Regions from separate parts of the Homo sapiens genome. Here region 2 is linked to region 1. Evidence: promoter capture Hi-C in 16 types of primary human blood cells and fetal thymus (Javierre and others, 2016). All regions are on one chromosome and are shown on one strand. The core of a region is centred on a gene start or on the middle of the fragment in contact, and the rest is flanking DNA. Distances in the headings are between cores, read along the strand shown.

Region 1 (5,175 bases), core at 2,483-4,982:
ATTCTCCTGCCTCAGCCTCTCGAGTAGCTGGGATTACAGGTGTGTGCCATCATGCCCAGCTAATTTTTGTATTTTTAGTAAAGACAGGGTTTCACCCTATTTGGGCCAGGCTGGTCGCGAACTCCTGACCTCAAGCTATCCGTCGCCTTGGCCTCCCAAAGTGTTAGGATTACAGCACTTTGTGCCTGGTCCCAAGATTCATTTGCCATCTTAAAATCAATTACTATATCATTTGAATAGAATGTGACAAGAACCACATGATTATCTCAATAGGCAGAGAAAAAAAAATACAAAATCCAACATCCTAAAAAAACTCTCAACAAACTAGGAATAGAAAGGGACTTCTGGCCGGGTGCGGTGGCTCACGCCTGTAACCCAGCACTTTGGGAGGCAGAGGCAGGTGGATCACCTGAGGTCATGAGTTCGAGACCAGCTTGGCCAACATGGTGAAACCCCGTCTTTAGTAAAAATATGAAAAATTAGCCACATGTGGTGGTGGGCACCTCTAATCCCAGTTACTTGGAAGGCTGAGGCAGAAGAATCGCTTGAACCCGGGAGACGGAGGTTGCAGTGAGCCGAGATTGCGCCATTGCACTCCAGCCTGGGCAAAAAAAGCAAAACTCCGTCCCCCCGCGCCCGCCCCCCCAAAAAAAAATTGCAAAGGAAAAAGTGTCTATTCACAGATGACATGATCCTGTATGTAAACAAATCCCAACCAACACCCCAACACACAAACTAGAAGACAAATTTAACAGTCAAATGGTACAAGATAAATCTATAAAAATCAATTGTTGCTGAGTGTGGTGGCTCACGCCTGTAATCCCAGCACTTTGGGAGGCTGAGGCAGGTGGATCACCTGAAGTCAGAAGTTCAAGACCAGCCTGGCCAACATGGCAAAACCTCGTCTCTACAAAAATTAGCTGGGTGTGGTGACACATGCCTGTAATCCCAGCTACTTGGGAGGCTGAGGCAGGAGAATTGCTTGAATCTGGGAGACGGAGGTTGCAGTGAGCTGAGATTGCCCTGCTGTACTCCAGCCTGTGTGACAAAGCAAGACTCCATCACACACACACACACAAAATCATTTTTCTGTAACAAGAAACTATGAAAATTAAGAAAATTCCATTCATGTTAGCATTAAAAGGAAATACTTATTTTATTTATTTATTTTTTGAGATGGAGTCTCACTCTGTCACCCAGGCTGGATAACAGTGGCCCGATCTCTGTTCACTGCAACCTTTGCCTCCCGGGTTCAAGCAGTTCTCCTGCCTCAGCCTCCTGAGTAGCTGGGATTACAGGTGCACACAACCACGCCAGGCTGTTTTTGTATTTTCAGTAGAGACGGGGTTTCACCATGTTGGGCAGGCTAGTCTTGTATGGAACTCCTGACCTTGTGATCCTCCTGCCTCGGCCTCCCAAAGTGCTGGGATTGCAGGCATGAGCCACTGCACCTAGAAAAGGAAATACTTATAAATAAATAAATTTAACAAAATAAGTGCAAGACTTGTATTATACAATGAAAACTACAAAATATTGCTGAGAGAAATTAAAGAAGATCTAAATCAGATCTAAATCCCCAGGGGTGATTCCTACTAGGGAACACTTGGCACTGTGTGGACAGATTTTTGGTTGCCACAACTTGGAGAGGATGTTGCTCCTAATGGGTAGCGGCCAGGGATGCTGCGAAATATCTTACAATGCATAGGACAGCCCCCATAACTAAAAATTATCTGGGCTCAGTAGTGCCAAGGCTGAAAAATTCCCATCTAAATAAATGAAGAGGCGTTTCATGCTATGGATTGGAACAGTCAATATTGTCATGATGGCAATTCTCCTAAAATTAATCCAACAATTCAACAGTTCAACATAATCCCTGTCAAAATCCCAGCAGGATTTTTTTTTTTTTTGGGGGGGATGGAGTCTCGGTCTGTTGCCCAGGCTGGAGTGCAGTGGCGGATCTCGGTTCACTGCAACCTCTGCCTCCTAGGTTCAAGCGATTCTCCTGCCTCTGCCTCCTGAGTGGCTGGGATTACAGGCGCGTGCCACCATGCCCAGCTAATTTTTTTATTATTAGTAGAGATGGGGTTTGACCATGTTGGTCAGGCTGGTCTCAAACTCCTGACCTCATCATCTGCCTGCCTCGGCCTCCCAAAGTGCTGGGATTACAGGCGTGAGCCACTGTGTCCTGCCTAAATTTTTAACAAGAGCAAAGTAAGAGGACTTACACTATCAGATTGCTCCCCTCGTCTCCCCTCCCTGCATTGCTCCCCTCCTCTCTCCTTCCCTCCTCTCCCCTCCCCCCAAATAACTGGGACTCCTAGCAGAAGGGTTACCCCAGTTAAAACCTACTCAACCCAGAAGAATGAGACAAACCAAGGGAGATGCCAATGAAAAACGAGTGACTATCAGGCCTGGAGATGGCAGCCAGCCACTCATACCCCAATGGCAGGCCAACCTGGAAAACTGTCCCCTGTAGGGTTTCCAAGGATGACATCTTGTCCTCCCCCTTGGGTTGGTCCCACTCTTGAAACAACATAAAAACTTAGAACCTAAAGAATACCCTCATACCTTCCCCTACCTTTTCTTCTTTTCTTTTCGAGACAGGGTCTCGCTCTGTCACCCAGGCTGGAGTGCAGTGGCGTGATCACAGCTCACTGCAGCCTCGACCTCCTGGGCTCAGGCAATCCTCTCACCCCAGCCTCTCGAGTAGCTGAGACTACAGGTGTGCGCCACCACACTCAGCTAATTTTTAATTTTTTTGCAGAGACGGGGTCTTCCTATGTTGCCCAGGCTGAGAAATTGTTTGTGATTATGGGTTATGCACAGATTTCTCAGCCGCAACACCAAAAGCATGATCCATAAAAAAAGGTGATAAGGAACTTAACAAACTTTAAAAGGTCTGCACCTCAAAACACATCATTAAGAAAATAATTAGTTAGGCCAGGCGCGGTGACTCACGCCTGTGATCCCAACACTTTGGGAGGCCGAGGCAGGCGGATCACCTGAGGTTGGGAGTTTGAGGCCAGCCTGGCCAGCGTGGTGAAACCCCATCTCTACTAATAATACAAAAAGTAGCCGGGCGTGGTGGCACGCGCCTGTAATCCCAGCTACTCGGGAGGCTGAGGCAAGACACTCGCTTGAACCTGGGAGGCGGAGGTTGCAGTGAGCCGAGATCGCGTCACTTCGCTCCAACCTGGGCGACAGAGCAAGACTCCGTCTCAGAAAAAAATAAAGAAAGAAAGAAAAAGAAAGAAATAGCCGGGCGTGTTGTCGCGCGCCTGTAGTCCCAGCTACTCTGGAGGCTGAGGTGGGAGGATCGCTGGAGCCCAGAAATTTGAGGCTGCAGTGAGCTGAGATCGTTCAATTGCCCAGGAATTTGAGGCTGTAGTGAGCAGAGATCGTTCAATTGCACTCCATTGCTGCCCACTGCGCTCCACTGTTGCCCAGGCTGTCCTAGAACTCCTGGCCTCAAGCGATTCTCCCGCGTCAGCTTCCTAAAGAGCTGGGATTACAGGCGCGAGCCACCGCGTAAATGCGCTAATGTATGTCAGGGCTTTATAGTAAGCATATAGTTTAGTCCTCGGCAAATGTTAGCAGACATGGGATATTTGTCGGTGCCGGGAGCTCTCAGTCCGGGGCGTTTTCCCACACCCACCTCTGCTCAGCGCTCCGGACGCCTGCAGTCACTATGGTAACGGCCAACGACTTCCGGAAGAAGAACGGCGGGCGGCGAGGGTCATTCCCAGCCGCAAACTGAGTGCGCTGAGCGGGGAAGCGCAAAGGGGCAAGTTACCCGTCCTGGCGTTTCTGGGGTTCGCCTCGGAGGCTAGCCTCGGTGCTCTCGCAGGCTCGCTCGCTTCTGCATCCCCGTTGCCGCCCGGAGCCAACTCTTAAGTTCTGGACGCCAGGCCTGAGGCAGTTCCGCCATGGACTTCTCCAAGTTCCTGGCAGACGACTTCGACGTGAAGGAGTGGATCAATGCGGCCTTCAGGGCCGGCTCCAAGGAGGCGGCGTCCGGGAAGGCGGATGGCCACGCAGCCACCCTGGTGATGAAGCTGCAGCTGTTCATCCAAGAGGTGAACCACGCCGTGGAGGGTGAGCCGCTCGGGGCCCTGGCCGCGGGACCCTCCCCTGCTCTCGGCTGGGCAGAGGTCACCGAACTTGCGTGAGGCACTCAGGTGGGCGGGGCACGCATGGACAGCAAATACCCTCGGCAAAAGAGCAAGCCCCGAACTCCTGATCACGTCAGCGGGAGTCTCAGCTGGGTGCCGGGCTGTCTTGAACACTTGCTAATTTTGGGTGTTGTTTTTCCTCCTCTGGCTGGGCTATAAGTTTCCTTTTTCTTTTCTTTCTTTCTCTTTGTTTTTTCTTTTGAAACAGGGTCTCTCTACAGTGGCTCGATCATAGCTCACTGCAGCCTCGAACTCCTGCACTCAAGCGATCCTCTCGCCTCTCGAGTCGCTAGGACTACAGGCGCGAGCCACCGCGCCCCACAAATTCTGTTTAAAAAAAAAATTGTAGAGATGGGATCTCACTGTGTTGCCAGGCTGGTCTCAAATTCAAATTCCTGGGCATAATGGGTTTTCCAGTCTTGGCCTCCCAAAGTACTGTGATTATACCTGTGAGCCACCACATCTGGCCTGAAGTTTCCTTTTGGAACTTAAAAGAGTGGATCTTATTGCAGTAGCTCTTCTCTAAATAATTCAATAGCAGATCTCTGGGATTCCCTTTTTATTATTATCCATAGGCACTGGAAGACAAGATGGATCTTTTTAAATGCTAGAAGTTTTAACCAGTTCTTAACATGTCTTTGTTGAGGCACCTTCCAGAATATAAGATAAAACAACTCCAGTTTCTGTTATAGTGACTTGAATCTCAGAGTCAAGAGCCCAGTGTCAAAGAAAATTGGCTTTGACTTTTTGTAATCTAGGAGCACGAGTCTGTGAGGTGTTTATTCAAAGAGTTAAAGAGCCTGTTTTGTACCAAACAATAAACTGTAAAAAGAAAAAAAAAGTGAATTTTGAGAGTATGAAAGAATAGCCAACAGATCCATATATCTGGAAAAAACGTATTATAGTATAGGTATAAGAGAATGACACAGATCTAGAAAACATTGTTTTAGTGGATTTTATTTCAGCTGAGGAAGATAGGCTGGTCTCAGTGGAGACTTAAACC
Region 2 (5,420 bases), core at 1,307-3,806, 280 kb after region 1:
TCTCACTCTGTCACCCAGGGTGGAGTGCAGTGGTGCGATCTCAGCTCACCTCCCAGGTTCAAGTGATTCTCCTGCCTCAACCTCCTGAGTAGGTGGGATTACAGTCATGTGCCACCACGCCCGGCTAATTTTTTTGTATATATTTTAGTAGAGACGGGGTTTCACTATGTTTGTCGGGCTGGTCTCGAACTCCTGACCTCGTGATCCGCCCACCTCGGCCTCCCAAAGTGCTGCTCCCAAAGGGCTGCGTGAGCCACCACGCCCAGCGTTGGAACGTTTTTGCAATACCTCTGTAGAGTTTCTGGTCCTTAGAGGATCACTGCTGGGGTTCAGGGTCTCAGGAGGCTAGTCACAAGAGATAGCAGGAGATCTCAAAACTTCCATAGAGTCAGAGGAGATATAAAGATATATAAAGTGGCTTAGAAAACTTGGTTAAGCTGCTACTAAGGCTTAGGCATCTGTGGCACAGGGTTGGCTAAATGTGGGATCCAGAGGAGATAAGTAATCTTGCTCCCAAGTTTGACTCTTTCCAGGATTCCTACAAATCTAGAATGATGTCCCTCAGTTCTTGTGGATGTTATCTTGCCCCACCAAGATGGGATTAATGCTCTCTCTTCATGCATTCTTAATGACTTAGTCTTTTGGGGCAACCTACTGTCTTTGACCTTTGGGGAGTAGGAACCAGGGTCCTCAGATTCAGTTGTGTGGATTTCAATTTTTTTGATGCTGCTTCTCTTGAGAGAAGCTGGCTTTAGATATCAGCACTGCGGACAGCAGCCATAGTTTCTCCTTTTATGCAGGAGGTCTCCAGTGGAAGCCTCATCGCCCATGACATGCAATTCACAATTTTGGAATGAATAGATGAAGGAGTGAAAGGGGCATTCTCCAGCCAGTCTATTCAGTCTGTGTGGATGAGAGATATCATGGTCAGATTACCTTTAGAACTGGACATGTACAATCAATTCTTGCTATTTGGGCTAGCTATGTTCTATAAAGCTGCCACAAACACTGAATTAGTGAATACTGAACCATTGCTTCTAGAAGAAATATAGAGTTCGGTTCCCGAGAGCCTCTGGTCACAACGTTGTCATTAACTGATCGATACGTAACTTTGTTTTATGTGTGTTCTTGTTTAAAGTCACCTTGTTTAATATATAGTTGATTCAATAACATTGAAATAATGGCCAACAGCACTATATAACTCATGCCTGAATAAAGCTTACCTAACACATATATTTTTTCAGTAAGGCACATACAGCCTTCCTGTGCTTAGGAATATTAGATAGCACTTCAGCGCTAGGGAGCAAACTCACCAACAAAACAAAAATGTGAAAATTGTGGCAGCCTATATAGGCTGCAAAAAAGGACATGAGTTTACAGTATAAGAGCTGAAACAAGAGGGTAGAGTGTTGCCTTATTTGACCTCAGCTGGGAACAAGCACAGTGGGTGACTAAAATTTTTGCTGCTTGGCACATGTCCCTAAAGGCATTGCAAGTATTGATTTTAGGGTTACAAATAAATTCTAGTGAAATATGAAATCCATGAATAATGAGAATTGACTGGGTTTTTTTTTAGTTTTCTTTAAGCCCGTGGGTTTGTTCTTCATCTTTTGGATTTTTCTCCAAGTCTCAGAACACAAAAGATACTCAGAGGTTATGGAAGATGATGTCCTTACAATGGCCCATAAGGCCCTACATGATTTCATTCACTCTCCCTTTTCTTGAGTCTGAGAGTGTAGAGTTAGGTTATTGATTTGAGATCTTTCTTCTTTTTTAATGTAGGTGTTCACAGCTGTAAATTTCTCCCTAATAACTGCTTAAGCTACATCCTCTAATTTTTATATGTTGTGTCATTTTTACTCACCTCAAAATATTTTCTAATTTCTCTGTTGGTTTATTTTTTAATTTTTTAATTTTTTTTTTTTTGAGACAGAGTCTTGCACTGTCACCCAGGCTGGAGTGCAATGATGCAATCTCTGTTCACTGCAACTTCCATCTCCCAGGTTCAAGCAATTCTACCTCAGCCTCCCAAGTAGCTGGGATTACAGGCTTCTGCCAACACGCTCTACTGATTTTTTGTATTTTTAGTAGAGATGGGATTTCACTATGTTGGCCAGGCTGGTCTTGAACTCCTGACCTCATGATCTGCCCTCCTCAGCCTCCCAAAGTGCTGGGATTACAGGCATGAGCCACCATGCCCAGCCGGTGGTTTCTTTTTTGATCCAATATTTATTTGGGAGTGTCTTAATTGTCACATATTTGTGAATTTCCCAAATTTCTTTCTGTCACTGATTTACAATTCCACTAAATTGTGCTTAGAGTACAACGGCCCCCAAGTGTAGTGCGAAGTGCTATCTAGTATTCCTAAGCACAGCAAGACTGTATGTGCCTTACTGAGAAAGGCATATGTTAGACAGGCTTTATTAAGGCATGAATTATAGTAATGTTGGCCATGATGTCAATGTTATTGCATCAACTACATATTAAATAAGGTGACTTTAAACAGAAACACACATAAAGCAAAGTTACATATTGATCAGTTGATGAAAATGTTGTGACCAGAGGCTCTCGGAAACCTAACTCTGTATTTTGTCTAGAAGCAATGGTTGACCTTCTCCCCATTTTAACCTGAGCTGCCTAATGCACAGTGGGGCTGGGGAGGGGCTGGGGGAAGCAGGGCTGAATCTTGGATCCTGGGGAAAGTTAAAGATGCAGAAGTGATGTCAGCTCTCTGTAGCGCAGTTCCCTTCCTGGTCCTTGCCACACAGCACCTTCTACAGAGACTAGCTCTGTGGGTGGCGGGGGCCCCCACAGGCCCCACTGCTTCCCCTCCCCGCTGCCCGTGCTGCTTCTCTGTGCCTGCTGTTGGAGCTCTGATGAAGGAGTAGCTGGCTGCCTTGTGAGCTGGAGGGGGCTGGGGCATCTGCCTGGGTCTTTGCGGAGAGCTGCTTATGGGTGTGGTCTGTCCAGGCATGTTGTTTCAAAGGCGGTGGACGTGAGCAAAAGCATCCTCACAGTTGATCAATAACTTTTCTTGTTTTTAAACCATCATGTCTTCATTTTACATTGGAATAAAGCGAGTTTTTGAAACCTGCCAAAAAAAAAAAAAAAAAAAAGAAGAAGAAAGAATGGTTCAGTATTCACTAAGTCAGTGTTTGTGGCAACTTTATAGAACATAGCTATCCACAACAGCAAGAATAGGCCAGGCGTGGTGGCTCATGCCAGTAATCCCAGAACTTTGGGAGGCTGAGACAGGCAGATCACCTGAGGTCAGGAGTGCGAGACCAGCTTGACCAATATGGTGAAACCCTACCTCTACTAAAACTACAAAAATTAACCTGGCATGGTGGTGAGTGCCTGTAGTCCCAGCTACTTGGGAGCCTGAGGCAGGAGAATCGCTTGAACCCAGGAGGCAGAGGTTGCTGTGAGCCGAGATGGTGTCACTGCACTCCAGCCTGGGTGACAGAGCTAGACTCTATCTCAAAAAAAAAAAAAAAGAAAAAAATTGTGCATGTCCGGTTCTAAAGGTAATCTGACCATGATATCACTCATCTATACACACTGAATAGGCTGGCTGGACAATGTCCCTTTCACTCCTTCATCCTCCTTACTGTATTCATTTCAACATTGTGAATGGCATTTCATGGGAGATGGGCATCCCATTAGAGACCTCTGGCACTGCATGATTTCAATCTTTTAAATGTACTTGGTTGGGCTTGTTTTGTGGCCTGTCATATGGTCTATCCTGGAGCCTTACATGATTTAGTAATGTTGCCAGAAGGCTCAGGAAGGTCTCCCGATGCCGCTGAGGCCTCAGTCCTAGCCACTGGCCAGATTCTTTACACTGTCGGGAGAAAAAATTCAGGGATGAGTCAGAATGAAGCAAGAAGCTTTTATTGCAAAGTGGGAACACACACTTAAGAGAGAAGGGCGGGCATGCTTGGGAGAACGAATCTCACACGATGGAGTTTGGGTTTCTAATTCTATGGGTGTCTCTTCAATTAGGGGTTGGAATAATCAGTAGGTATTCTGCAAAAGGAGGAAATTTCAGGGACCCCAATTACTGCCTACGTGTTTGCCTGGAAGAGTCATGGACACGTCATCCTGACCAGGGTTTTGGCCATTTTCTCTCCCTTCTTTTGTGTTTTCGGTTATCCTGTGGTTTCTTTGCCTAGTTCTTGTTTGAGCTGTTGTTTGGGCTTTTCCATCCTCCTGTGATCACCCAGTGCTGTTCCTATCTCGGTACCACTCAAACCTCAAATCCTACTATTCACCCTGTGTTTATTTCTCTCTAGCCACTCTGGCCTCCTTGCTGTTTTGCAAACTCATCCAGGCACGTTCCTTTCTGAAAGCCTTTGGAGTTGGCTCTGCTCTGACTGGAATGCTCTCCCTCCTGATTTTTGCCTGGCTCCCTATTTCACCTCCCTCAGATCTTTGCTCAAGAGTCACTCTCCCAGCAAGGGACCATTGCTATTTATTCATAACCACGCTATTTAAAATTTCAACCCCATGTACATTTTCTTTAGTTTCCCTGTCCAGCTTTATTTTCTCCATAGTGCCAATTTTCTGTTTAAATTTTTTTTGCTTTTAAGTATATATATATATTTCTAATAATTTACATCTATGATATAGGTTTCTTTATTTTTATGTAATTTTTAATTTTTGTTGGTACATAGTATGTGCATATATTTATGGGGTACATGAGATGTTTTGATACAGGCATGAAATGTGAGATAAGCACATCATGGATAATGGAATATCCATCCCTTCAAGCATTTATCATTTGAGTTACAAACAATCCAATGACACTCTTTATTTTAAAATGTACAGTTAAATTATTATTGACTTTAGGCCGGGTGCAGTGGCTCATGCCTGTAATCCTAGCACTTTGGGAGGCTGAGGTGGCTGGATTGCTTGAGCTCAGGAGTACAAGACCAGCCTGGGCAACACGGCAAAACCCCATCTCTACTAAAAATACAAAAATTAGCCAGGTGTGGTGACACACACCTGTCGTCCCACCTACTTAGGAGGCTGAGGCAGGAGGATCACTTCAGCCTGAGAGACAGAGGTTGCAGTGAGCCGAGATTGTGCCATTGCACTCCAGCCTGGGCAAGAGTGAGATCCTGTCCCCAAAAAAAGTTATTCTTGACTTTAGCCACCCTGTTGTGCAATCAAATAATAGGTCTTATTCATTCTTTCTATTTTTTTGTACCCATTAACCATCCCACCCCACCACCCTTCCCAGTCTCTGGTAACCATCCTTCTACTCTCTATGTCCATGAGTTCAATTGTTCTAATTTTTAGATTCCACAAATAAGGGAGAACATGTGATGTTTGTCTTTCTGCATAGCATCAATTTCCGTCTGACACAATGTATCTATTACTTGTTAGTTGTCTGTCTTTCTACATTAGAATGCAGG

What was found. Contacts are between HindIII fragments. The CHiCAGO score rates a contact against its expected background, and 5 or more counts as called.
Region 2: a fragment that was not itself captured here is called in contact with the fragment with the promoter of COG7 in region 1 in 1 of 17 cell types (endothelial precursors); the score reaches 9.1 in endothelial precursors.

The regions. Positions count from the first base shown.
Region 1 is chr16:23,451,746-23,456,920 of GRCh38, reverse strand. It overlaps COG7 (component of oligomeric golgi complex 7), which reads left to right and starts at 3,732. Exons shown (of 17, transcript NM_153603.4): 1 at 3,732-4,095. The coding sequence starts at 3,927. LOC124903667 (a long non-coding RNA gene) reads right to left here and starts at 4,178. Exons shown (of 2, transcript XR_007065030.1): 1 at 3,656-4,178; 2 at 1,132-1,451. RefSeq lists enhancers at 3,403-3,452, 3,743-4,072. The HindIII fragment of the contact is 18,303 bases long and covers 1-5,175 here.
Region 2 is chr16:23,170,186-23,175,605 of GRCh38, reverse strand. No RefSeq gene overlaps it. Among named protein-coding and RNA genes, the nearest start is that of SCNN1G, 9.8 kb to the left of the region's middle. RefSeq lists an enhancer at 2,877-3,378. The HindIII fragment of the contact is 2,672 bases long and covers 1,221-3,892 here.